Linked DNA regions of Homo sapiens: regions 2, 3, 4, 5, 6 and 7 are each linked to region 1. The links are contacts of gene promoters, found by promoter capture Hi-C in human tissues and cell types (Jung and others, 2019). All regions are on one chromosome and are shown on one strand. Each heading gives the region's core, a stretch centred on a gene start or on the middle of the fragment in contact. The rest is flanking DNA. Distances are from core to core; before and after follow the strand shown. Region 1 holds the start of RPL3 (ribosomal protein L3). Region 2 overlaps NPTXR (neuronal pentraxin receptor). Region 3 overlaps LOC105373032 (a long non-coding RNA gene). Region 4 overlaps LOC105373032 (a long non-coding RNA gene). Region 5 has its middle 16 kb from the start of APOBEC3A. Region 6 holds the start of LOC105373033 (a long non-coding RNA gene). Region 7 holds the start of APOBEC3F (apolipoprotein B mRNA editing enzyme catalytic subunit 3F).

The links. The method cuts DNA at HindIII sites, captures the fragments that hold promoters and counts their contacts. A contact is called where the count stands out against the background at its distance.
Region 2: a fragment that was not itself captured here is called in contact with the fragment with the promoter of RPL3 in region 1 in 1 of the 25 tissues and cell types used here (dorsolateral prefrontal cortex).
Region 3: a fragment that was not itself captured here is called in contact with the fragment with the promoter of RPL3 in region 1 in 1 of the 25 tissues and cell types used here (heart right ventricle).
Region 4: a fragment that was not itself captured here is called in contact with the fragment with the promoter of RPL3 in region 1 in 1 of the 25 tissues and cell types used here (spleen).
Region 5: a contact is called between a fragment that was not itself captured here and the fragment with the promoter of RPL3 in region 1, in 1 of the 25 tissues and cell types used here (lymphoblastoid cells).
Region 6: a contact is called between a fragment that was not itself captured here and the fragment with the promoter of RPL3 in region 1, in 1 of the 25 tissues and cell types used here (liver).
Region 7: the fragment with the promoter of APOBEC3F here is called in contact with the fragment with the promoter of RPL3 in region 1 in 5 of the 25 tissues and cell types used here (aorta, bladder, lymphoblastoid cells and 2 more).

Annotation. Positions count from the first base shown.
Region 1 is chr22:39,317,726-39,321,165 of GRCh38, forward strand. RPL3 (ribosomal protein L3) reads right to left here and starts at 1,898. Exons shown (of 10, transcript NM_000967.4): 1 at 1,870-1,898; 2 at 675-867. The coding sequence starts at 1,872. It overlaps SNORD43 (small nucleolar RNA, C/D box 43), which reads right to left and starts at 1,388; the gene lies at 1,327-1,388. RefSeq lists enhancers at 887-1,776, 1,643-1,692, 1,777-2,666, 2,083-2,502, 2,667-3,440. The HindIII fragment of the contact is 19,716 bases long and covers 900-3,440 here.
Region 2 is chr22:38,831,341-38,834,780 of GRCh38, forward strand. The region is part of intron 1 of NPTXR (neuronal pentraxin receptor); the gene reads right to left. Among named protein-coding and RNA genes, the nearest start is that of NPTXR, 11 kb to the right of the region's middle. The HindIII fragment of the contact is 5,879 bases long and covers 1-3,440 here.
Region 3 is chr22:38,897,291-38,900,730 of GRCh38, forward strand. The region is part of intron 1 of LOC105373032 (a long non-coding RNA gene); the gene reads left to right. Among named protein-coding and RNA genes, the nearest start is that of CBX6, 27 kb to the left of the region's middle. The HindIII fragment of the contact is 3,107 bases long and covers 381-3,440 here.
Region 4 is chr22:38,916,557-38,919,996 of GRCh38, forward strand. All of the region lies in intron 1 of LOC105373032 (a long non-coding RNA gene), which reads left to right. Among named protein-coding and RNA genes, the nearest start is that of APOBEC3A, 39 kb to the right of the region's middle. The HindIII fragment of the contact is 3,874 bases long and covers 1-3,440 here.
Region 5 is chr22:38,939,614-38,943,053 of GRCh38, forward strand. No RefSeq gene overlaps it. Among named protein-coding and RNA genes, the nearest start is that of APOBEC3A, 16 kb to the right of the region's middle. The HindIII fragment of the contact is 9,821 bases long and covers 1-3,440 here.
Region 6 is chr22:38,966,452-38,969,891 of GRCh38, forward strand. It overlaps LOC105373033 (a long non-coding RNA gene), which reads right to left and starts at 1,402. Exons shown (of 3, transcript XR_007068099.1): 1 at 523-1,402. LOC124905118 (a long non-coding RNA gene) reads right to left here and starts at 2,916. Exons shown (of 3, transcript XR_007068101.1): 1 at 2,789-2,916; 2 at 2,337-2,394; 3 at 1,662-2,148. RefSeq lists an enhancer at 1-153. The HindIII fragment of the contact is 5,262 bases long and covers 1-3,440 here.
Region 7 is chr22:39,039,292-39,042,731 of GRCh38, forward strand. APOBEC3F (apolipoprotein B mRNA editing enzyme catalytic subunit 3F) reads left to right here and starts at 1,573. Exons shown (of 7, transcript NM_145298.6): 1 at 1,573-1,686. The coding sequence starts at 1,670. RefSeq lists enhancers at 1,383-1,442, 2,495-3,272. The HindIII fragment of the contact is 19,854 bases long and covers 1-3,440 here.

The sequences.
Region 1 (3,440 bases), core at 648-3,147:
GCAACTGGGCCCCACACCTGCAGTACGGACTCACAGGGCTGTCCTTACTGCCTATCTCTCATTCAAAGCACATTTATGTTATTCAAACAAAAAATATCAGGACCCTAGACAGCCAAATACCTGTCCAGCTTCAATTCTCTTCTACAGAAACCTCTGGAGGCAGACAAGATTGCTATTTATCTGGAAAATTCAGTGCCCTAACAATAGCTCTGAGCTCAGAGATTAGTCAGTATCAACTGCCTAACATTAATGTCTCCATGGCTCAGCAACCAGTGCTGTTAGACATCTCTAAGTAGAACACACACAGGTAAGTGGCCATTATTCAAGCTTTCAGGTGAAAAAAACATGAATGAGGCAGTTCTTATGCCAGCCTCAGCAGCTCCAACCCCCCACACTAGTGTTAACTTCTCTTTGCTAAGGTTCCTGGCAAATTTACTATGCTCTGAAATCAATACCCCACACCGCACCTAAAGCAAACAGTGCTGACCATCTGTAGCCTTGGAATATTAGTTTTCAAGTTAAGCATTCCCATTCTGCTGTCGCAGCAGTTCTGACAACGTGTAACTCCTGCTTAAAAAAAAAAGTCTGCCCTCTGCTAACAGCTTGACTCCATCTCTACAATTTCCCTCCCCCTCCACTCCTATTCCCCCAACTTTTAGGATGTCTGTACATACTGGATCCCGGCCTGTCGACTTCCCGCACGATGTGAGTCATGCCAGCCTTGTATCCCAGGAAGGCTGTGAGGTGGACCGGCTTGGACGGGTCATCCTTAGGGAAGCTCTTCACCTTCCCACGATGCCTGCTGCTGCGCTTCCGAGGCAGGAAGCCGAGGGACCCATGTCTGGGAGCGGAGAACTTTCTGTGAGACTAGGTGGGAAAAAAATCACCGTCAGCACCCAAACCAAAGCAGTGCCCCCTTCTCTAGTTCCCAGCTGCTTAAGTTCCAAATCTCAGCAATACTGAAGAATCCTGACCAGACACCCAGCAAGCCGAATAAAAAGGTCATTATCTCTTCCAGGCTCGCACGTGTCAAGAATGCTTTTGTATTCGACAAAATTTAAGCTGAATCTTATTTCAAATCCTCTCAACCTGTAAGAAAACGACCCATTTTTTTTATCTAACCACACAAAAATACACTAAGTAGTGGCACTAAAAACTGCTTAACAGGCAGCTTTATATGCCAATTAGCAAGGTTTTGACCGCTAAAGAAAGGGACTCCCGGGACAAACGCTGGGTAGCAGCTAGCAATGTTAAGCTATAGGCTGCCTCCGGTGCCCGGACACTAATTACACTGATACACACAGGCCAAAGAACTCCGCAGAGCCAAATCAGAACGTGACAATCAGCACACAGTTTCTGTCCGCCCGTCAATAAGTTCATCATCTGTGGTTTCTGCGAGCTCCAGAGGCCTTCGGAGTGCACCAGCGGCCCCAGATATTCAGGAGGACTCCACAACACTCCCCTCCCCCAAGCTTCTTTACCTCCCAATGAGAACGGCGCCGAGAACCTCCACCCAAGGTCCTTCTACCCAGACAAGCAGGTTATGGGCCCTAATCCCAACTAATGATAGAATTGGTGAGGTCGAAACTTAGAAATGACTCATGGCTTTAAAAACGCCGGGCCTCCAAGCCTGCTCCCACCCTTACGGCCTCTCTCTGGCCGACCTGCAGGCCCAAAGCCAGTCCTCCAAGCGCTCTTCACAAGCCTCTCGACTTTCCAGAAAATAGGCCAGACTGAAGTCCCCGCTGGGTCGCCCGTGCCCCTAAAGCAAACCCCCGGCGCCGGCCAAGACGGGATGGCGGCGATGCGTCGCGGATTCAGCCGTGCCGACGCCGGTGACAATGAAACGGCCGCCATTACAACACATACCATCACGCCATCAAATCCCGCCGGTAGAGGCCGGTCGGCCTTACGGGTCCGCTATATAAAGCCAAATCTGGCCCCGCCCCTTCCGGCGTGCGAGCGCGCCCCCGCGGCAGACGACAGGTCGGGGGCACGTACCGAGCGCCATTTCCACGCACGCTCTTCCGCTCCTAGCTTTCGTTCAGAAGTTGACGTCAGCTTCGGAGACAGAAATTACACACTCTACGGCGAGGGGTCGGGTTCAAACTTAGTGAAAAGCCGCGGAGAGGTGGGCTAAGGGTGGGTGAGCCACAAATCTACGGCGTCCGGCAGCAGCCAAATTTGATAATAACGAAGAAAAATGGCTGCGTCGCTTCTCCTCCTGTGATATGCAGCTATCTCTGGAATTAGCGAAGAAAGACTGAAACTCTCGTTTCCTGGCTCCCACGCTGGTTTTGCGGCGACACCAATTTACCTTTAATACCTTTAATCTCGGGCATCCCTCCCTCAAGCCCTATCTCTGCCATTTCTCCCATGCTAATGCAGTGGCCCGCGCTTGATTCTGAGGGTCAGGAGCGTCCCAAGCCTGCGGAACGGCCTCACGACCTCTGGTCATGCCGAGTCCAGCTGCTCAGCCTCCCGGAGCCCCACGCCTTCCAGACCTATGCATCAGCGAGGGCTTTCGCTGATCTCTGCCTAGGCTCCAGGGTGACTCGGATCCTGACCGATTCCCTGCTTCCAGGCTGGTCCCTTACAAATCTCTTTTTTGAGACGGAGTCTCGCTCTGTCGCAGTGGCGCGATCTCAGCTCACTGCAAGCTCCGCCTACCGGTTCCCAGTTCAAGCAGTTCTCCTGCCTCAGCCTCCCGAGTAGCTGGGATTACAGGAATGCGCCACCATGCCTGGCTAATTTTTTTTTTTTTTTTTTTTGTATTTTTAGTGGAGACGGTGTTTCACCATGTTGGCCAGGCTGGTCTTGAACTCCTGATCTCGTGATCCGCCCGCCTCGGCCTCCCAAAGTGCTGGGATTACAGGTGTGAGCCACCGCGCCTGGCCCCCTACAAATCTTTCTAAGAATCAAGTATCTCGTTACTTTCCATGGCCGCCTCGTTGTTTCCTCGGAATTAAGCATCAACTTCAGCGGCCACCAAAGACGCTCCCCTAACCGTCTACTTCAGCCTCATGGCTGCGCCAGAGCACACGCTCTCATATCACCTGCTTCCTCTGTCCCACCCTGTCATCTTCTTTAATTCTGGGCCTGGCCTTTGCTCCCACCGTCGTTTGAAAAGCATTCTCTCGGCCAGGCGCGGTGGCTCACGCCTGTAATCCCAACACTTTGGGAGACCGAGGCGGGCGGATCACCTGAGGTCAGGAGTTCGAAACCAGCCTGGGCAACATGGCGAAACCCCGTCTCTATTAAAAATACAAAAATTAGCGGGGCACGATGGTGTGCGTCTGTAATCCCAGCTACTTGGGAGGCTGAGGCGGGAGAATCGTTTGAACCCGGGAGACGGAGTTTGCAGTGAGCTGAGATTGCGCCAGTGCAATCCAGCTCAAAAAAAAAAAAATTATCTCAATCCTCACACCATTCCCGAAGGA
Region 2 (3,440 bases), core at 700-3,199, 490 kb before region 1:
AGGCTGCGGTGAGTCATGATCATACCACTGCACTCCAGCCTGAGCAACAGAGCGAGACAAAAAAAAGTGTGTGTGGGGTGAAACAGACTTCCTCTTGTTCATTCCCAGGACAGATGGAAGGATGGGAGGACAAGTGACAGGCCCTCATGGACTATAAAAGCATAATGCCAACTGTGGGGCTTGACTACATTAGCTGATGGGGCGCTCATTACCTCCAGAGCCTTCAGGTGACACTGGATGGCCCACAGGGTGACAGGGTCAGCCACCCACTGCATTCGAGATGGCTGGACTTCCAGGAAGCCTTGGACTGAGGCAATCAGCTCAAGGGGCGCATTTCATCTCAGGGCTGGAAGGGCGGGCTGGGGCAGGGTGTCCCTGGTCCCAGGTACTGTTCTGTCCTCAGTTCTCCACCCGCTCTGTGCCAAGCTTGAGGCCAGAGGGGCATGCGGGAGTGAGGCTGTGCACCGGGCCCATCATAGGCACTTGGCATGTGTTTACTCATGAATCCTCGCAGCTGCTCGCTGAGGCTGGCACTCTTCGTATCCCCATTTCACAGATGGGAAACCAAGGCAGGAGTCGTTTTGAATTGTCTATAGCAATGGGGCTGGGCCAAACCGATACCCCTGGAGCCAGCATCTCCTCTCTCCAGCAAAGGGAGAGAGGGAGGAAGACTTGCCAGGAAGAACAGAGGGAGGAAGATCTGCCAGCAAGAACAGGGAGTCGAGGCTATTTAAACAGACGCTGTTTGGAGGAGAAAACGTGCGGGCTGAGGGGGTGTGCGCTCAAGCTGTTCTTTTGTCAGAGCCACTGGCTCTGCAGCGGCCAGGAAGGCCATGGAGGAGGTGGGCTCGCCGGATCGTGTGTGAGTCCCTCCCCGTCCCAGTGTCTGAATCAGAAGAACACGACTCCCGCACCCCCACTTCCCATCTGCTGTGGGCGCAGGCTGTGCCGCGTGGGCTCCCGGCCCGATGCCAACTGGGCCCCTCACCTAAGATGATGGAGGGAATGATGACGCCAGCACCCCCACTCAGCTCCTGCTGGGGCAGAAAGGTGGAGGCTGGGAACCCATGGCCTGTCCCGCTGGGAGTCCGGGGTGGGGTTTGGCGTAAGTGTGCTGGGCCTAGAGCCAGAGCCCCTTGTTCTAGGCCTGGCTCAGCCATAATGTGCTGGGCTCATTAGCACTCAATCAGAATGCTAACGGCAGCAGCTGTCTCCATCGAGCACTCGCTGCATGCCAGGCCCCGCACTAGGGAAGATCTGTGCAAACAGTTCTAGGCTGCTCTCAACAGCCTGGGGAAGTAGGGAGGCCCACTCAGAGATGAGGGAACTGAGGCTCAGTGCCTGTCTAAGGTCACATACCTGTGACGCTGCAGAGCCAGCACTCCAGCCTGGCCTTCCTGATCCTGAAATCTGTGCTCATTCCTCAGGCTCACACTGATGGTCTGGGTCTGTTGGTTGATCTGCCAAGTGGGCACAGTGCTGGTTGCCCTGCCTAACTCGAAGGCAAGCAGGAGAGGTACTAATGGCCACGGGAAGTCTAGAAGATCCAGAAGGTTGTGTGAGACTATGGCGCAGGGCAGCTTCACAAAGGGAGACTGATAGGAGGGTCCTGCCAGCGTGGGGTGGCTGAGGCTGGGAGGATGCAGGGAAACCCCATCACCTTAGCCCCACCCGGGGTCTATTCCCTTGCTGCAGGGAGCAGAAGGCAGGTGCAGGACTCCAGGGCCAGAGTCCCATCCTCTGCACAGCCCACAGACTGTGCTCATTCCTCAGGCCTACACTGCTGGTCTGGGTCTGTTGAGGGTCAGGGTCCCACCCTCTGCACCACTGCCCCTGCCCAGGATCACCCAGGTAGTGGTACTCCCAGCTGGCAGTGAGGCAGAGGCTGTTCTGGGACGGCCAGACCACCAGGTTTTGCAACGGTGGGAGTTTGGGGTCAGAAAGCTTTCTCAGAGAAACCCCATCCTGCCACCCCACCTCCCTCACCAGGGGCAGACTGCAGGGGCACCAGGACCAGGTGGAAAGTGAGCAGCCTTCAGGGGGAGCAGTGTGGACCACGGCCCCTCACCTCCCCCATCCAACCATCCCCTGAGTTCTGAGTCCTGCTAGGGCTCACACCTGGGCTTCACCAGCTGAGTGGCCTTGTTATGTAACGGTGCCATGCCTCAGTTTCCCCATTGGCCCCAAAGGGTAAAAGAGTAAATCTCATAGCATCGTGGTGAGGATTGACTGAGTTCATAGACAGAAAGCGCTTAGTGCGCGGTAGGCATAGGAAGCATCACAGGCGTGTCTACTATTAATGTCGTGACTAACAATTTTTTTTTTTTTTTTGCGATGGAGTTTCTTTTTTTTTTGAGACAGAGTCTCGCTGTTGCCCAGGCTGGAGTGCAGTGGCACGATCTCGGCTCACTGCAGGCTCCGCCCCCCTGGGGTTCACGCCATTCTCCTGCCTCAGCCTCCCGAGTAGCTGGGACTACAGGCGCCTGCCACCTCACCCAGCTAATTTTTTGTATTTTTAGTAGAGATGGGGTTTCACTGTGTTAGCCAGGATGGTCTCCATCTCCTGACCTTGTGATGGGGATCAGCTGATTGGAAACGTTTGGTTCTTGAGCCTGGGCAGGGGCCTGGGTAGTAGTATTTATGCCTTTTTGCCCATCTGAAATACTTGACATGATTTTCTTTTAAAAACAGGAAAACAATCCTAAAGTGGCATCTCTAGTGGTTGAATCTAACCCTGCTTCTTACCCAGAGCTTCATGAAGTGGTGTCTCTAATGCTTGAATCTAAACCTGCGTCTCGCCCAGAGCTTCACTCAGCTCCTAGCCTTCTCCCTAGTCCTGGCTACTCTCCGCTGGACTGTGCCACAGCTTCCACTCCCACCCTCCACACAGCGGCCAGAGGCAAATCCAGCCATGTTGCTCTCCTGCTTAAAATCCTTCCACAGCCCCGTCTCCCTGCCAATAAAGTCCCTGTCCTCCTGGCTTCAGCCCTTACCCCGACAGGACATAGGTCACGCCCACTGAAAGTCCTCTGCTGCTCAACTGCCCCAAACTCCTTCTCACCCTAAGGCCTCCACACATGCTGTTCCTTCTCCAAGAACATTCTTCCCGCCCCCACCCCTCCTCTGCCCATTGCCTGCTCATCCTCCAGATGGCAGCTTCCCTGATGCCTGAACTGAGATGCTCTATAGAGAGAGAAGAGGGCCCTGAGAGCTTCTCTGGCAGGGCTGCAGAGCACTCATCCATCCATCCATCCATCCATCATCCATCCATCCATCCATCCATCCATCCATCCATCCATGTGTGCCGCAGCAACATGGCGTCGTAGTTGCAGACACGAACTGTCACGTTAGACAGGCCAGCGTCATTTTCAGTTCCTTGCTTACTAGATCTGCGACCTTGGGCAAGCTGCTTAACTCCTCTGGCCCTCAGTTACCTTATC
Region 3 (3,440 bases), core at 684-3,183, 420 kb before region 1:
CCCCAGACCTGGAACCAGCTGTTATGTTAAGAAACGCTAGTTCCTTTAGGGGAAAATGATACTTAGAGACCACAATCTGGGGACTGAGGAGTGATCATTACTAGTGTGTTTTCATGCCTTCCAGGATTTTCAGTGCACATATTAGGAAATGAGTGCATTCTAAAAGAAAAGAGTTATGAGTTCATACTGATATTTCCAATTCAAATTTATGATTACAAGAGTTTAACTCAAAATATTTGGTTTAATACTTGTATATTTTTTTCTTTCACTGAAAATCTTGGTTTTTGTTTTGTTTTGTTTTTAGAGATGGGGTCTATGTTGCCCAGGCTAGGGTGCAATGGCTGTTTACAGGCACAATTGTAGCACACTACAGCCTCAAACTCCTGGGCTCAAGCGATCCTCCTGCCTCAGCCTCCCAGTCTATAGGTGTGCACCAATGCACTCAACTGAAACTTTTGTTTTTTTAATGAGCAAACGTATGTATTATTTGGCTTATCCTATAATATACCTATAGGTATTCCAAAATTAAAAATTTCAAAATTGCTACTAACAATAAGACCCTGAATATAGTTCAACATTTCTATGTAGTTCTTATTGTCTTTAGAATATTTTCCACTAGGAATGTACACTTAAAATACTGTGTTTTAAAGTAACATGAAATAATTTTTTAATGTGTCTATGCTACTAACTTGATGTATTTTAGTTTAGCTTGTTTAAATTTGTTTTCAATTTTTAGGGATTTTTTTCTATTTTGATTTCATTTTATTTTGTATTTATGTAAAATTTGTTTTATTTTAAAGTGAAAACTGTAAAACAAGGTGTCTTCACAGAAGTCTCCTTTCCATCCTACTTTACCCTGTTTACTGCCTTCCTCTTCACATTGTATAGATTTTTGGTTTGGTTTGTCCTCACCTTGCATTGCTCCCTTTCTGGAGACACATATTTTTCTTTTTAATCACATATAACACTTCTTTATCAACTTGATATATCAGATTTTGTATGATAACATCAGGGTTTTAGGCTATAAATCCAAATTATTCTCCCAAGTAGTATTATTAAATCCAAAACCATCTTGAATCTTTACCTAACCCCCTCCACATACACTTAGAAGTTTTTTTTTTTTGTTTTTTTGTTTTTTTGTTTTGAGACAGAATTTCCCTCTCTTGCCCAGGCTGGAGCACAGTGGCACCATCTTGGCTCACTGCAACCTCCACTTCCCAGGTTCAAGTGACTCTCGTGCCTCAGGCTCCTGAGTAGCTGGGATTACAAGTGTGCACCACCACACCTGGCTAATTTTTTTTGTATTTTTAGTAGAGATGGGGTTTCACCACGTTGGCCAGATTAGTCTCGAACTCCTGGCCCACTTAGAGGAATTTTATTTTAAAATTATTTATTTGTTTTTTGAGATGTAGTTTCACTCTTGTTGCCCAGGCTGGAGTGCAATGGCGCGATCTCTGCTCACCGCAACCTCCGCCTCCAGGGTTCAAGCAATTCTTCTGCCTCAGCCTCCCAAGTAGCTGGGATTACAGGCATGCGCCACCATGCCCAGATAATTTTTGTATTTTAGTAGAGATAGGGTTTCATCATGTTGCAGGCTAGGTTTTAGGGAGAGGTTATTATTATTATTATTATTTTCTTTTTTGAGATGGAGTCTCACTCTGTCGCCCAGGCTGGAGTGCGGTGGTGTGATCTCAGCTCACTGCAACCTCTGCCTTCCAGGTTCAAGCGATTCTCTTGCCTCAGCTTCTCAAGTAGCTGGGATTACAGGTGCCCACCACCAAGCCCGGCTATTTTTTGTATTTTTAGTAGAGATGATGTTTCACCATGTTGGCTAGGTTGGTCTCGAACTCCTGACCTCAAGTGATTCTCCCACCTCAGCCTCCTAAAGTGCTGGGATTACAGGCATGAACCACCCCATCGGGCCCACTTAGAGGAATTTTAAAAAGACTGCTTAAAATTTTGGAGTGCCATATGGTTAATATGTGAAAATATTTAGGTTTGCCCTAAAATCTTCTAATTTATGGGTGAAAATGCATGCTTCACTCCATATGTGTTTGTGTTTATATTTTAATTGCAGGTAATCCTAATGTAAAACTTCTAATTTATTAAGGAGCTTTTGATAAAACCAAATGCCTACTGATTCATGTTTAAAATTCAAATTTCTCAAAGCAATTATGAAATATGCCCATATTATACTTATTTAAAAAACTAAAAATAATAAATAATTATTGAAAGAAGCTATTGTACCTTTGGTTCTTTACCCCAAAAGTTCAAGTGGAATTTTTTTTATAGATTTACATAATTTTCTTTTCTTTTATTTATTTATTTATTTATTTATTTATTTATTTATTTTTTTGAGATAGAGTCTCGCTCTGTTGCCCAGGCTGGAGTGCAGTGGCTTGACCTTGGCTCACTGCAATCTCTGCGTCCCAGGTTTAAGCATCCTCCCAGCTCAGACTCCCGAGTAGCTAGGACTACAGATGTGTGCACCACCACACATGACTAATTTTTTTTTATTTTTATTTTTTGTGGAGACGGAGTTTTGCCATGTTGTCTAGGCTGGTCTTGAACTACCGGAGTCAAGCAGGAGTCTTGCCTCAGCCTCCCAAAGTGCTAGAATTACAGGTGTGAGCCACTGTACCTGGCCTAGATTTACATAATTTCCGCTACAACCGATTTCTAAAAGACAGTAGGCTTTATAATTGTATCACATTTCCATTGTAGTATACTTCAATTGTGGTTCTATGATCATATATTTGCAGAAGGTTTTGCCTATTTAGTTTTAGTGCAAAAATTCAGGTTTTTGCATGGAAGCAGGCTGTGCTATACCTCCAATTCCCAATTTTGTATTTTGTAGTAATTGCACTTAACCTTACGGAAACTAACAAAATTACTAAGCTTTAAAATTCAGATTAAATTTAAAATGTTGGCTTTCATTATACATTCCCTATAACTGTAATTTAGAACACATACCATCTCTCAAATTTGAAAAAAATTTAGAAAAACAACAAAATTTATACATGCTTTACAGAGTCATACCTGAGATCTTGAGATTATCTTTTAAATTTAATACACCAAGCTCTTTCCTTGAGGAAAAGTTTTCTATCCATAAAATAATCTGAAATCAGAGTTGCTTCTAAGCAAACACACTTAAATTTCAGCTATCTATTTAGTGTCATCTAGTAGAGTAGGATTCTTTATTGGAAATATGAACAATTTACCTCTATTTTTGGCTGCAATATTCTGAGTTTAACCCGAGGAAAAAAAATGTTCATTTTGATTAATTTTTGATTTTTCAGATATTCCACTTTTAGTAGACAAGTGAAATGCTGTCGTTTCAGACCTTTTATTTTTTAAATGTGATATTCTCTTTATTAAATGTATAAACTCAAAATCCTAGTTATTTTTGAGATTTCAAGTTCATTTTACACTTTGTATTA
Region 4 (3,440 bases), core at 290-2,789, 400 kb before region 1:
GGCTCTGGGCATCCCTTGCTAGGGCACCCATTCTCTGTGAACTCTTGTGCCTGAATCTCATTGACTGGCTTTCGAGGCTTAAAGCAGAAAAGCACCGTGTAACTTGGCTTAGGAATTGCTCTTAGACAAATCTATAGATCCTGGTCTCTTAACATCTGCTTTCCCCGGAAGCCAGCAGTGGGAGCTCCCCTTTCTCCACTGATGGGTCCAAATGGAAGCGTTCCTGGGTATTTTTGGTTCTCAGCCCCATCTTCCAGCCTGGAGGGGAGGGTTGTAACAGTTCACAACATGAGCACTGGTGAAAATCCAGTTACTCCAGCAGCAAGAGCACAACCTATGAGAGGCAGGGGGGTTCTGCCCTCAGACTGGCTCTTGCATAGGGAGAGAAGACCTTGTGCTGATAGGACTCACCTGTTTGGCACAGGAGGCACCCATCAGCGCTGTTCATGGTCCTGAACTACAGCTGCTGGTCTCTCTTTTTTTGTTTTTGTTTTTTTTTGAGATGGAGCCTTGCTCTGTTGCCCAGGCTGGAGTGCAGTGGTGTGATCTTGACTCACTGCAACCTCCGCCTCCGGGTTCAAACGATTCTCCTGCCTCAGCCTCCCAAGTAGCTGGGATTACAGGCGCCCACCACCATGCCCAGCTAATTTTTGTATTTTTAGGAGAGATGAGGTTTCACCATGTTGGCCAGGCTGGTCTCGAACTCCTGACTTCAGGTGATCCACCTGCCAAAGTGCTGGGATTACAGGTTGAGACACCGCACCCGGCCCAGCTGCTGGTCTCTATTGCATTCTCCTTCCACTTTCCATAGAGTCAGTGGTGACTTCAGTCCAGCCTCTCCCAAGAATTGGGAATCAAGTTAGCAAGGACGTGAGAGGAGAGGGGAACATGGCTGGAATCCTTTGGAGAATAATGCTGCTGAGACATTTGCAGGGAGAAGAAAATGGGACTTTTTCTTTTGGTCATCTTTGACAAAGTTTTACAATTACCAAGACCTCTGAGAAGCTGGGAAGCGCATGACACCACTATACCACATCCCTCTGCTGGCAAGTTCATAGAAGGGGATGGAGACCTAGGACTGTGAATTCCAGGAGTGCAGGGTCCATATTGGACTCCCTTATCCCTTGTCAGTGTACAAGGCAGGCATTCAATAAGTGTTGGTTGAACTGATAAGATGTTGGGTGTAAGAGACTAAGTACAGGAATACCTCAGAGATACGGTGGGTTTGGTTCCAGGCCATCACGATAAAGTGAATATTGCAATAAAGCAAGGCACACAAATTTTATTGTTTCCGAGTACATATAAAAGTTATGTTTACTCTATACTGTAGCCTATTAAGTGTGCAATCGCATTATTCTAAAAAAGTACATACCTTAAAAATATTTTATTGCTAAAAAGGCTAATGATCATCTGAACCTTCAGTGAGTTGTAATCTTATTGCTGGTGGAGGGTCTTGCTTTGATGTTGATGGCTGCCAACAGATCAGGGTGGTGGTTGCTGAAGGCTGGGGTGGTGGTGGCAATTTCTTAAAATAAGACAACAATGGGCTGGGTGTGGTGGCTCATGGCTGTAATCCCAGCCCTTTTGGAGGCCAAGGTGAGTGGATCACCTGAGGTCAGGAGTTTGAGACTGGGCTGGTCAACATGGTGAAACCTCATCTCTACCAAAAATACAAAAATTAGCTCAGCGTGGTGGCAAGCACCTGTAATCCCAGCTACTTGGGAGGCTGCGGCAGGAGAATCATTTGAATCTTGGAGGTGGAGACTGCAGTGAGCCAACTGCACCAGTGAGCCAACGCCACTGCACTCCAGCCTGGGCGACAAGAGTGAAACTCTGTCTCAATAAATAAATAAATAAATAAGACAACGATGAAGTTTGCCACATTGATTGACTCTTCCTTTCATGAAAGATTCTCTGTAGCATGTGATGCTGTTTTATAGCATTTTACCCACAGTAGCACTCCTTTCAAAATTGGTGTCAATTCTCTCAAACCTGCTTTATCAACTAAATTTCTATAATATTTAAAATGCTTTGTTGTTATTTCAACATGTTCACAGCATCTTCACCAGGAGTACATTCCATTTCAAGAAACCACTTTCTTTGCTCATCTATAAGAAGCAGCTCATCATTCACTCAAGTTTGATCATGAGATTGCAGCAATGCAGTCACATTTATAGGCTTCACTTCTACTTCTAGTTCTCTAGCTATTTCCACCACATCTGCAGTTCTTTCTTTTACTGAAGTCTTCAACTCCTCAAAGTCATCCACAAAGGTTGGACTCAACTCCTTTCAAACTCCTGGTAGATTGATATGTTCATAATGGCACCTAGAATGATAAATGCTTTTCAGTAGGTTTCAATTTACTTTGCCCAGATCCAGACTTGAAAGCTGAAAGGACTCCTTGGTCCATGGGCTGCAGAATGGACATTGTGTTAGCAGGCAGGAAAGCAACATTCATCTCCTTGTGCATCTCCAGCAGAGCTCTTGGGTGACCAGGTGCATTGTCAATGAGCAGTAATATTTTGAAAAGAATATTTGAAAAGAATATTTTTTTCCGAGCAGTATATATCAACAGTGGGCTTAAAATATCCAGCAAACCACGCTGTAAACAGATGTGCAGTCATCTAAGCTAGAGCACTGGCAGAGTAGATTTAGCATCATTCTTAAGGACCCTAGGATTTTCAGAATGGTAAATGAGCATTGACTTCAACTTAAAGTCACCAGCTGCACTAGCCCCTAGCAAGATAGTCAGCCTGTCCTTTGAAGCTTCAAAGCCAGGCATTGCCTTCCCCTCTCTAGCTATGAAAGTTCTAGATGGCATCTTCTTTCAATAGAAGGTTATTTCATCTACATGGAAAACCTGTTGTTCACTATGGCCACCTTAATCAATGATCTTAGCCAGATCTTCTGGACAACTTGCAGCTGCTCCATCAGCACTTGCTGCTTCACCTTGCACTTTTATGTTATGGAGACAGTTTCTTTCCTTAAATCTCACGAACCAACCTCTGCTAGCTTCAGACTTTTCTTCCGCAACTTCCTCACCTCTCTCAGCCTTCATAGAATTGAAGAGAGCTAGGGCCTTGCTCTGGATTAGGCTTTCGCTTAGGAGAATGTCATGGCTGGTTTGATCTTCTATCCAGACCCCTCAAACTTTCTCCATATCAGCAGTAAGCCTGTTTCACTTTCTTATCATTCATGTACTCATTGGAGTGGCACTTTTAATTTCCTTCAAAGGCTTTTCCTTTGCATTCACAACTTGGCTAACTGCATAGTGGAAGAGGCCTAGCTTTCAGCCTATCTTGTTTCTTGACATTCCTTCCTCATTAAGCCTAATCATTTCTAGCTTTTGATTGAAAGCAAGAGATATGTGACAGTTCCTTTCACTTGAACACTGAGAGGCCATTGTAGGGTTATTAATTGGCCTAAATTCAATATTGTTA
Region 5 (3,440 bases), core at 414-2,913, 380 kb before region 1:
CTCACTGAAACCTCCGCCTCCCAGGGTCAAGCAATTCTCTCGCCTTAGCCTCCCTAGTAGCTGGGATTACAGGTGCACACCAGCATGCCCGGCTAATTTTTGTATTTTTAGTAGAGACAGGGTTTCACCATGTTGGCCAGGCTGGTCTCAAACTCCTGACCTCAGGTGATTCCCCCGCCTCGGCCTCTCAAAGTGCTGAGATTACAAGCGTGAACCACCATGCCAAGTCAGCTTCCCTAGTTTCTGATATATTGTAAGTACCCCCTCATTTCCTTCAATCACAATTATTCTGTCACTTGGACTTAAATAACCCGTTTACTATTTTAAAAAAAGAAAGAAAGCTAAGAGCAGTCATGGTGATTCTATTTGCATTTGTGTTGTATTTCTGTCTATCAGTGTATTTGGGATATTTTATGTCCGTTAGTAAAACTGTTCCCTTCTTTCAAAATACAGGCTTTGAAACTTTGTTTTCTTTCAAAAATGTTTGTATTGGAGTATAACTTAGAGTTAATTGCAAAAGCTTAGGTTTGCAGTTGATGTAACCACCGGCCAGATGGGGTGGAGGCTTTCTCCAGAATCTCAGGTGGCTCATGCATGTCATTCGATTTGTTCCCCCTCCACTGGAAACTGGTGTTCTGACTTCTATTATCATAGATTAATTTTGCCTGTTTTTGAACTTCATAGAAATTACACAGTATGAATTCTTTTATGTGTGACTTCTTTTGTTCAATATTACTTTTGTGGGGTTCACTGATGCTTTATATGCCAGGAGTTCATTCATTTTTATTGCTGTGTAGTATTCCATTGATGGAGAGAGTACAATATATTTACCATGTATAACATATTCACAATATATTTTAATATATATTTTAAATTATAATATATTAAAATTACATTGTATATAATTTATATATTAAAATAATTTTATATATTATAATATATTTTAATATATGCCATTGTTGCTGGACAGACCGAGTTATTTCGAGTTTTTGGCTGTCATGAATAAAGCGAAATGAACGTTCTTTTTTTTTTTTTTTTTGAGAGTCTCGTTCTGTTGCCCAGGCTGGAGTGCAGTGGCACCATCTCTGCTCATTGCAACCTCCACCTCCTGGGTTCAAGGGATTCTCCTGACTCAGCCTCCCGAGTAGCTGGAATTACAGGTGCATGCCAACACGCCTGGCTAATTTTTGTACTTCTTTTTAGCAGAGATGGAGTTTTGCCATGTTGGCCAGGCTGGTCTCAAACTCCTGACCTCTGGTGATCTGCCTCCCTCAGCATTCCAAAGCGCTGGGATTACAGGCGTGAGCCACCGCGCCCAGACTGTGAACGTTCTTATGCAGCCTTTTGGTGGACATAGCATCTATTTCAGTTGGATATTATAATACCTAGGAGTGGCATTGCTAAGTCATGGAGTAGATGCTTGTTTCGCTTTAGTAGCTGCAACTAAACATTCTATGCTGCCCCTTTTATGCTACCATCAGCAATGTAAAAGAGTTCCATCCTTGACAATATTTGATGTTGTCAGTCTTTTGGATTTTAGCCATCCTGGTGGGGAGGGGCTAGTGGTATCTCACTGTGGTTTTACTTTACATTTCTCTGATGATTAATGAGGTTGACCACATTTTCATGGGTTCACAGGCCATTTTGATATCCACTTTTGTAAGCTGCTCCTTCAAGATTTTGGCCCATTTTATAATGGGCTCTTTTTCTTACTGATTTTCTGGAGCTCCTTATATATTTGGGAGATAAACTCTTTGTTAGGTAGATATAGTGCAGACATCTTTTCCGAGTCTATGATAGGCCTTTTCACTCCCTTACTCCCTTAATGGTGCTTTCTGATGAAAGTCTGTGCTTTTCTTACTAATTCCTGGTTATAGTATCGTTTTATTTCACATTGTGGATGAGGTTAAAAGTTGTTGATATAACACACACTAGTTAAGACAACATCCTGGAGAAGGGAACACGGCGCAGAGGATTTTCTCCTCTAGGCTGCTTCCGGTTTTCGGAGTCAGTCATACTGACCCTCTGGTTTTAGTTCCTTGGGTGGTTTCCTCGGGGAACCACTATTTCTTGATTTACTAGCTCTTGATGGTATCTACTGCCTTCCCTCCGCGAATATGAGAGTTTCGCTCTTATAATTCTCCAGAACTTCCCCTCCCCTCCTCTCCCCTCCTCATGTAGTTGCATCAGTGCCCTCAGGTCCCCCGTGGGCAAACGCCCACAGCTTCAAGTGCTTGCTGAAACTCAACAAGAAGCAGAATCACTTGACTCAACCTTGTGAATCAGCCGCTGACACTTCCCTCACTCCTCTTCCAGCCTCCCTCCTCATTCCATCTTGACCTCTTTCACTTTCGCCTTCACATTATTAAGGTTGAGAATGTTTATATTAATTTTGTGAACATATCTCAGCCTCCCATGTCCTGTCTATAGATTGAATCTAAATGTTGAAAACCCAGTCTTTGGGGTTTACATCACCGTACTTATAGGAACGTGCATCTCACCAACCTCGGTCATGATGACTTACCTCTCCCGAATCTTCCTGTCTTAATGCCGTTCCAAAAAACATCTTCTTCATGTGGCAGCCAAATGGTTCCACCTTTTTGATTTTCCACCGATGATGCTTACAATCGTGCCATGATCTTGTTGGCCTCCTCCTTGGACCATGGCTGTAGAGTGTGGAAAGGTGTTAACTCTTCAACCTTTTCTGTCTGTCCAGTGTAGAAAAGGGTTAACCTTTCCACTCTGTGAGCCGCCCCCCATGTTTCCTTTTTTTTGAGATGGAGTCTCACTTTTGTCACCCAGGCTGGAGTGCAGTGCCACGATCTCAGCTCACTACAACCTTCGCCTCCTGGGTTCAAGTGATTCTCCTGCCTCAGCCTCCCAAGTAGCTGGGATTACAGGTGCCTGCCACCACACCTGGCTAATTTTTGTATTTTTAGTAGAGACGGGCTTTTGCCATGTTGGCCAGGCTGGTCTTGAACTCTTGACCTCAGGTGATCCACCTGCCTTGGCCTCCCAAAGTGCTGGGATTACAGGTGTGAGCCAGCGCACCCAGCTTCCCCCACGTTTCTAGGTAGCCATGGTTAGTTTCTTTTGCTTGCAACCAAAGATCTCTAATAGGTAAAGAAGGTGATCCAAGATTCCAGGAAACAGGAAACAGAAGGAACGTGCTGTGGGGAGATGAAACAGAAGCTCCGGGTGAGACCAGGGCAGCACTGACCACTCCACAGCACCTGGCTGTGTAGCTGCTCTGGGTTGGACTCGCCTGCCCAGCATCCCTTCCTCTGCTGCCTTTGGGGAACCGCCTCTCCTTTGATTGTCATCTTGATTGATTTGTGGACAAGACAACCCAGGCCCCTGCCCTCTCCAGGACTAGGGCCAGTTCAGAACCCAAACCCAATCTGACTCCCCTGGAGCTCTGACTCTGAACAAAATAAGAC
Region 6 (3,440 bases), core at 600-3,099, 350 kb before region 1:
CCCACTCTAACTCAGAGCTCTGTGCTAAGGAGAGCCTTATCATGCCCTCGGTGGATTCAGAAGCACTTTGTAGGGCTGAGTGACGAAACATTTGGGGCTGGGAGTAGAGCTGGCTGGGTCAGGACGACACCCCCTCCTGGAAGGGCAGGCCTGTGGGGGGCACAAGCAGGGACAACAGCCCATTCGTGTCTGCTGGTACAGGTGCAGTCTCTGTGCAGGTGGGCAGTGGGTACTGCAGGGCACCATGCTGTGTGTGCCTCGAGTGTGAACTGGGAAAGGTGGTCTCTGGTCAGACTCACACAACACACCAAGATGAGCTCACACCGGAACCACCCGAGACTCAATTGGGAGTTGACAGCCCCCAGGGGATATCCTCTTGACTAGAGAAGTCCAAGGTCTGGAGACAGAATGGGAGGTGGCATCCTCATGGCAGAGAACAGGGCCTCCTCTGGTCTGCCCATGAGGAGTGGTGCCCACCAAGATGGCAGGGACACTGTGCTGAGGAGGGTGGATCACTCCCACCTTCTTCTGAGGTTTCCACCTCAGCGAGCACCGGCCAGGCTGGGAGGGCGAGGAGCTGTGCTTGGTCCGGGTGGCCAGGGTGGGACTGTCCCCAGGATGTGGACTCTCTTGCATGAGACAGCTGGCCAAGGATGGGGGGTCTAAGAGGAGCCAAGACAGGGGAATCAGCAGGACAGGGGGCAGCCCCCAGGCCCACAGGGCCAGTGCATTCTTCGGGCAGCTGTGCTGGGTGCAGTAGGTGGACCTGGGAAAGGATGGCGCCAGACCTGCCGTTGGGACTCAGGGGCTCACTTGGGGCAGGAGCACAGCTTCCCACACATTTCTGCAGGGCTGGAGGTGGGAGAAAGGGCACAGGGTGAGCCTTCTGAGGGCATTTGTGTCCCTGCATCACTCTGCTCACTGGGAGGGCCTGGGCAAGTCTAGGTACCTTTCAGAGCCTCTCGTATCTCCTCTAGAGGAGTAATGGGGATGAAAGCACCCCTTGCTCTAGTTTGCCGTAATTAGATGGACTGACACAAACAAGGGCTCAGCATGTCTGTCTCCTTCCCTTCCCAGGGCCTGGGATCAAGACCCAGGACACACTCTGCTCTCTGCACTGCACGCCCTGCAGGGCCCTGGATGCAGCAGGCATGCCCTGTGCTGGCTATAGTAGGGGACGTAGGGTCGGCTGCTCTGGAGCCTACTCTCTGGGGGCGCTGAGTCTTATTCGAGACCTTTCTCCAGGGTGTGGATACCTGTCCTCCTGCCTGTCCCCTGGCCTCCTGCCTTCCTGGTCCCTGCTGCCCAAAGTGACTGAAGTGTGGCCAAGGCTCGCTTTCCTCATTGTCACTCCACAGCATCCCTGTAGGGCTATTGTCAGAGCAGGGAAATCAAAACCAATGCTTGTGGGAAGACACAGCAGAGAACTTCCTTATTCTGTGACACTGATGTGGGTGGCACAGGGGACCTGAGTTCAGGAAGGGGTGGGGCAGGTCATTGCTGACCCAGCAGCTTGCGGTCACTCTGAAGTGATGTAAGCCTCCTGTGTCCTAAGAGCAACCAGAGGAGGACCACAGGAGCACATGCTGTGACCGTCACAGAAGCAGGAGGACCCTGACCTAGGAACCGTGAAGGGACTAGGACATGATGGCTAATGGCTAACACGGTGCTGACAGCCAGTCCTGCAGCCTCTCGAAGCCTCTGCTCCTGAGCCTCCTCCTCGGGTTCCTTGGTGATGGTCACTTGCCTCCTGCCCTCCAGGGGCTCCTTCTGGTTCCCTTGGGGACTGTCCTCTCCCCTTAACCCTCTCTGGACCTGGCTTCTGCTCTAGGCTCCCAGCCCTGTTCCCAGCCCCAGTCTCTAGTCTGATGCTATCTATTGAGTCTCCTCCTGCTCCTGGGGCAGGTGTGCAGGGGGGCAGCAAATCCCAGGTGATGGCACTGTGCCCAGGGGGCGAAGACGGTTGGAGAGAAGATTCTCCTCACCCACCTTTAGAGTGGCACCCACCATTTCTGGCAAATGCACCATGTCTCCCCTCTGGGCTAAGCTCTTTTCGCGCCCAATCCAACCCTATCTTACCCAATATTGGGAATAGGGAGTTGCTCCCGACACCACCGTGCTACGAGGAAAAGCCATTCTTTCCTTTTCCTGTGAACACACAGAGGGTAAGTGGTAGAGCCCAGATTCACACCGGTGTCTATGCAAAACCATAGGCAGCACTGAGATTTCCCTAAGGCCAGGCTCATTAGGGTTATGTAGGGTGCACAGAGCGGGGCTGGGAGAGGCCTGCAAGGCCCAGTAGGTGCTTCCTGCCCAAGAGTCCTGAGGTGGCCCACCTGGCTAGAGAAGCATGGTCGTTGCTTGTTTGGCAGAACACAGGACTGTTGTGGTATCCTTCATTGCCGTGTTCATGTATATAATTTAAATTAAAATGTAAAATTAAAGAAAAGAAAGAAAGACGTTAGAGCAGCCCCGGTCAGCCCCGGTCCTGGGAGGTATCACCCAGGTTGTGGGCTTTGCACTCCTCTCCCATATGATCACAGCTCCCCTCGGCCCCGGTGGCCCCCCTGCCACGCCGCCTTGAATTTGACAATGCCACATTAGAAGTCTTGGTCTTAATCCTGAATGTTTCTTTTGCCCACCTTCCCTTTCATTCGCCCAGCTGTTTCAACCCCAAAACGCTGCTTCCTCCCCTTCCTCTCACTTCCATATCTAATTAGTAACTCACTCTGGCTGAATTCATCCCCACAATTCACCCCCAATGTACCCTGACTGCCATCACTGTCACCTGTCGCCTGGGATGTCTGACAGTCTCCGGTTCACCAGCTCAGCTCCCATTCCCTTTGCATGCAGCTACTGGAGTGACTTTGTTTTTTTCTTTTTTTAGAGATAAGCTCTGTCTCTGTCACCCAGGCTGGAGTGCTGCAGCGTGATCATATCTCACTGCAGCCTCGAACTCCTGAGCTCAGGCAATCCTCCAATCTCAGCCTCCTGAGTAGCTGGGACAACAGGACCATGCCACCATGCCTGGGGAATTTTTTGTAGAGACAGGGTCTTGCTATGTTGCCCAGGCTGGTCTTCAAACTCCTGGTCTCAAGCAATCCTCCATCCTTGACCTCCCATAGTGCCAGGATTACTGGCATCAGCCACCTGGCCCAGCTCTGGAGTGACTCTTCAAAAGAAAAACCAGGTCATGTCACTGTTTGGTGACATGAAACAACCCCTACCCCAACCACACATGGATATGCACATGTACACATGCATGTAGGCTCACACACCCATGTATGCATGTGCACGTGCATGTGGGCACATGCGGGAGGGTACACCCAGTTGTTGTCTTTTAAAATGAAATCGAGGCCGAGTGCGGTGGCTCACACCTGTAATCCCAGCATTTTGGGAGGCCGAGGCGAGTGGATCGCTTGAGGTCGGGAGTTGGAGAC
Region 7 (3,440 bases), core at 323-2,822, 280 kb before region 1:
TGGATGTATATGTGCAGTTCACAGGGGTCACAATGGCTTAGCTCCGGCTCAGAGGCCTGACACTGACCTCAGATGATCCACCTGCCTCGGCCTCCCAAAATGCTGGGATTACAGGCGTGAGCCACTGTGCCTGCCTGGGATCATATGTTACACGCATGTTTGTTCAATAAGCATGGAGTGCAGCCACCCACATGAATATTCATAGCTCCTCCTATAGCCTGTTGAATATGTATGTTTAGCCAACCCCTTCAGCATAAAGCTCCTGCCCCAACCCCTCCTGCTTCTAAATGTCTGTCTCTGGTGTTTCCCAGAGGCTGCTCTTCCCAGGCTGCGGGATGGCTACCTTGCTGCCTGTCACCCTTAACAAGAAATAAAATCTCCTTTCCAAATTTATACATTGTGGCCAGGCGCGGTGGCTCACACCTGTAATCCCGGCACTTTGGTACGCCAAGGCGGGCGGATCTCCTCAGATCGGGAGTTCGAGATCAGCTGACCAACATGGAGAAACCCTGTCTCTACTAAAAATACAAAAATTAGCCAGGCATAGTGGTGGGCGGCTGTAAGCCTGACCAACATGGAGAAACACTGTCTCTACTAAGAATACAAAAATTAGCCTAGGCGTAGGGGTGGGTGCCTGTAATCGCAGTTACATGGGAGGCTGAGGCAGGAGAATCTTTTGAACCTGGGAGGCAAAGGTTGCGGTGAGCTGAGATTACGCCACTGTACTCCAGCCTGGGTAACAGAGCAAGTCTCCGTCTCAAAACAAACAAACAAACAAAAAAACACAAAAAAACAAAAGCAAACAAAAAAACCAAATGCATCCCTTGTGTAATTTTTAGGTCACCGCGCCATGGGAACACGCTACCAGGGGAAGGGAGCTGTGAGACGCGCAGGGAGGCTCCAGACAGGCTGGCCTGGGACACCAGCCACTGCTCTTCCATGACATGGGGACAAGAGGAGGCGAGAGCTCAGCCCACCAGGGAGGAACTCCGGGCAGGAGATGGGGAAGAAGGAGAAGCAGGAAGGAAAGAGCTCAGTGTGGGGGCGCGCATGGCATCCCGGTGGGACATCTGAGGCCCACACCCACCTGCTGTCCCTCCCTCCCACGGTGGCCTCCGAGGGTGAAGGCCTGGGGAGAGGCAGACACCTGGCCCTTTACTCTCCCTCCCTGTCCCCATGGCCGCTGGGTGGGGGCCGTCTCTGGGATGATCCCCGAGGGCAGGATCCGGGAGTCCCTGCGGAGGCATCAGCCTGTCTGTCTTGATGGTGGAGAGGAGGCTCCAGCTGGGCGGGACCACCAGGGGAGGGGCTTGTGCTCTGCTGGCTCAGCCTGGTGTGGACCCACCTCGCGGGCGCTGGCTGCAATGACTTTCTCTTTCCCTTTGCAATTGCCTTGGGTCCTGCCGCACAGAGCGGCCTGTCTTTATCAGAGGTCCCTCTGCCAGGGGGAGGGCCCCAGAGAAAACCAGAAAGAGGGTGAGAGACTGAGGAAGATAAAGCGTCCCAGGGCCTCCTACACCAGCGCCTGAGCAGGAAGGGGGAGGGGCCATGACTACGAGGCCCTGGGAGGTCACTTTAGGGAGGGCTGTCCTGAAACCTGGAGCCTGGAGCAGAAAGTGAAACCCTGGTGCTCCAGACAAAGATCTTAGTCGGGACTAGCCGGCCAAGGATGAAGCCTCACTTCAGGTACCGCTGCCCGCTCTACCCGCTGGGCCCCTCTGCTGCCCCTTCCTGCCTGGTGGCTCTGCTGGGCGTCAGCCCTGGCCTCCCCCTGCCCCAGCCCCAGCCCTGGGCTCCCTCCCCTCTGGCTCCCCTGCCCCCGCCACTCCCAGCCAGGCTCTTTTTCCTGCTCTGTGGTTGCCCCACTGCTGCTTCTGAATAGGCCGCTTCCCCACCTGCCCCAGCCCAGGTGCCCTGCTGAGACTCTCCCCCGCCACCGAAAGTCATGGCAGGGCTGGTGCTCCCGGCCCTGGGAGGGTGCTCCCTCTGTGTTCTTTCCGCCATTCCTGAACTCTGGAACTGGGAGAATTGAACCAAAGGATGATTAGAGCAATGTGGAATTTTGTTCACAGTGCTTTGATGGATTTTCTGTAACATTTACTTTGCTTAAATAGCAAGTCTTAGGAGAGGGTGTGGGGAGGGAATGGTCTCTGAAGCACAAGATAAATCGTATCTTCCAAGGATGTCTCCACTGTGGGCAGAGGAGGATGCAGATGACCCCAAACACACGCTCCTCCTCCACTATCAGCATTCACTGTTTATAAATGACACGAGTAACATGGAATATAGTGGCCGGGTGCGGTGGCTCACACCTGTCATCCCAGCACTTTGGTAGGCTGAGGTGGGTGGATTGCCTGAGGTCGGGAGTTCGAGACCATCCTGATCAACATGGATAAACCCTGTCTCTACTAAAAATACAAAATTAGCCGGGTGTGGTGGCGGGCGCCTATAATCCAGCTACTCCACAGGCTGAGACAGGAGAATCGCTTGAACCCAGGAGGCGGAGGTTGCAGTGAGCCGAGATCGCCCCATCGCACTCCAGCCTGGGCAACAAGAGCCAAATTTCGTCTCAAAAGAAAAAAAAACAAAAACAAAAAACATGGAATATATGGGAAAAAAACTCAATGATCAGGAGAAATGCTATTATTTTAAAATTTAGTAAGAAGAGAGTCTGGTCCCCAATGGCTCCCTCCTGCAAGGCTGGTGACACAGAGACTGGACAGGGCTGGTCTGGTAAGAGGCCCCAGCCCCATCCGTCCCCAGCTCTGTGGCCTGGGCAGGTTACCCCATCTCTCTGCGCCTCTGGCACCTCCTCTGTAAGATGGGAATGGCCCGTGCGGGCCTAGGGCAGCCTCACATGAGCTCACATCCGCGCAGCACTTAGAAGAGTGGCCTGGGCCTCAGAATTCGGTTCTACCATGATTTAACAATAGTAATATACAGAGGTGAAATGTCAGAAGGAACTGGCTGAAAGGTTAAAATCTATTATTTTGGGGTGAATAGTTTTATTCTCTCTCTCTTTTTTTTTTTTTTTTTTGAGATGGAGTTTCGCTCTTGTAGCCCAGGCTGGAGTGCAGTGGCACGATCTCGGCTCACTACAACCTCCGCCTCCCAGGTTCAAGCGATTCTCCTGCCTCAGCCTCCACAGTGGCTGGGATTACAGGCACCCACTACCACGCTTGGCTAATTTTTATATTTTTAGTAGAGACTGGGTTTCACCATGTTGGTGAGACTGGTCTCAAACTCCTGACCTCAAGTGATGGGCCTACCTCGGCCTCCCAAAGTGCTGGGATTACAGGCATGAGCCATAATGTCCAGCCAAGAACTTTGTTCTCTTTTGCATTTTACTAATGCGTTGGAGAATGGGTGGGAGAAATACTGGGAAGGTGGGGAATGTACTCCTGGAACGACCAGAGCTGGACCCTGAGCTGGAAGAGGTC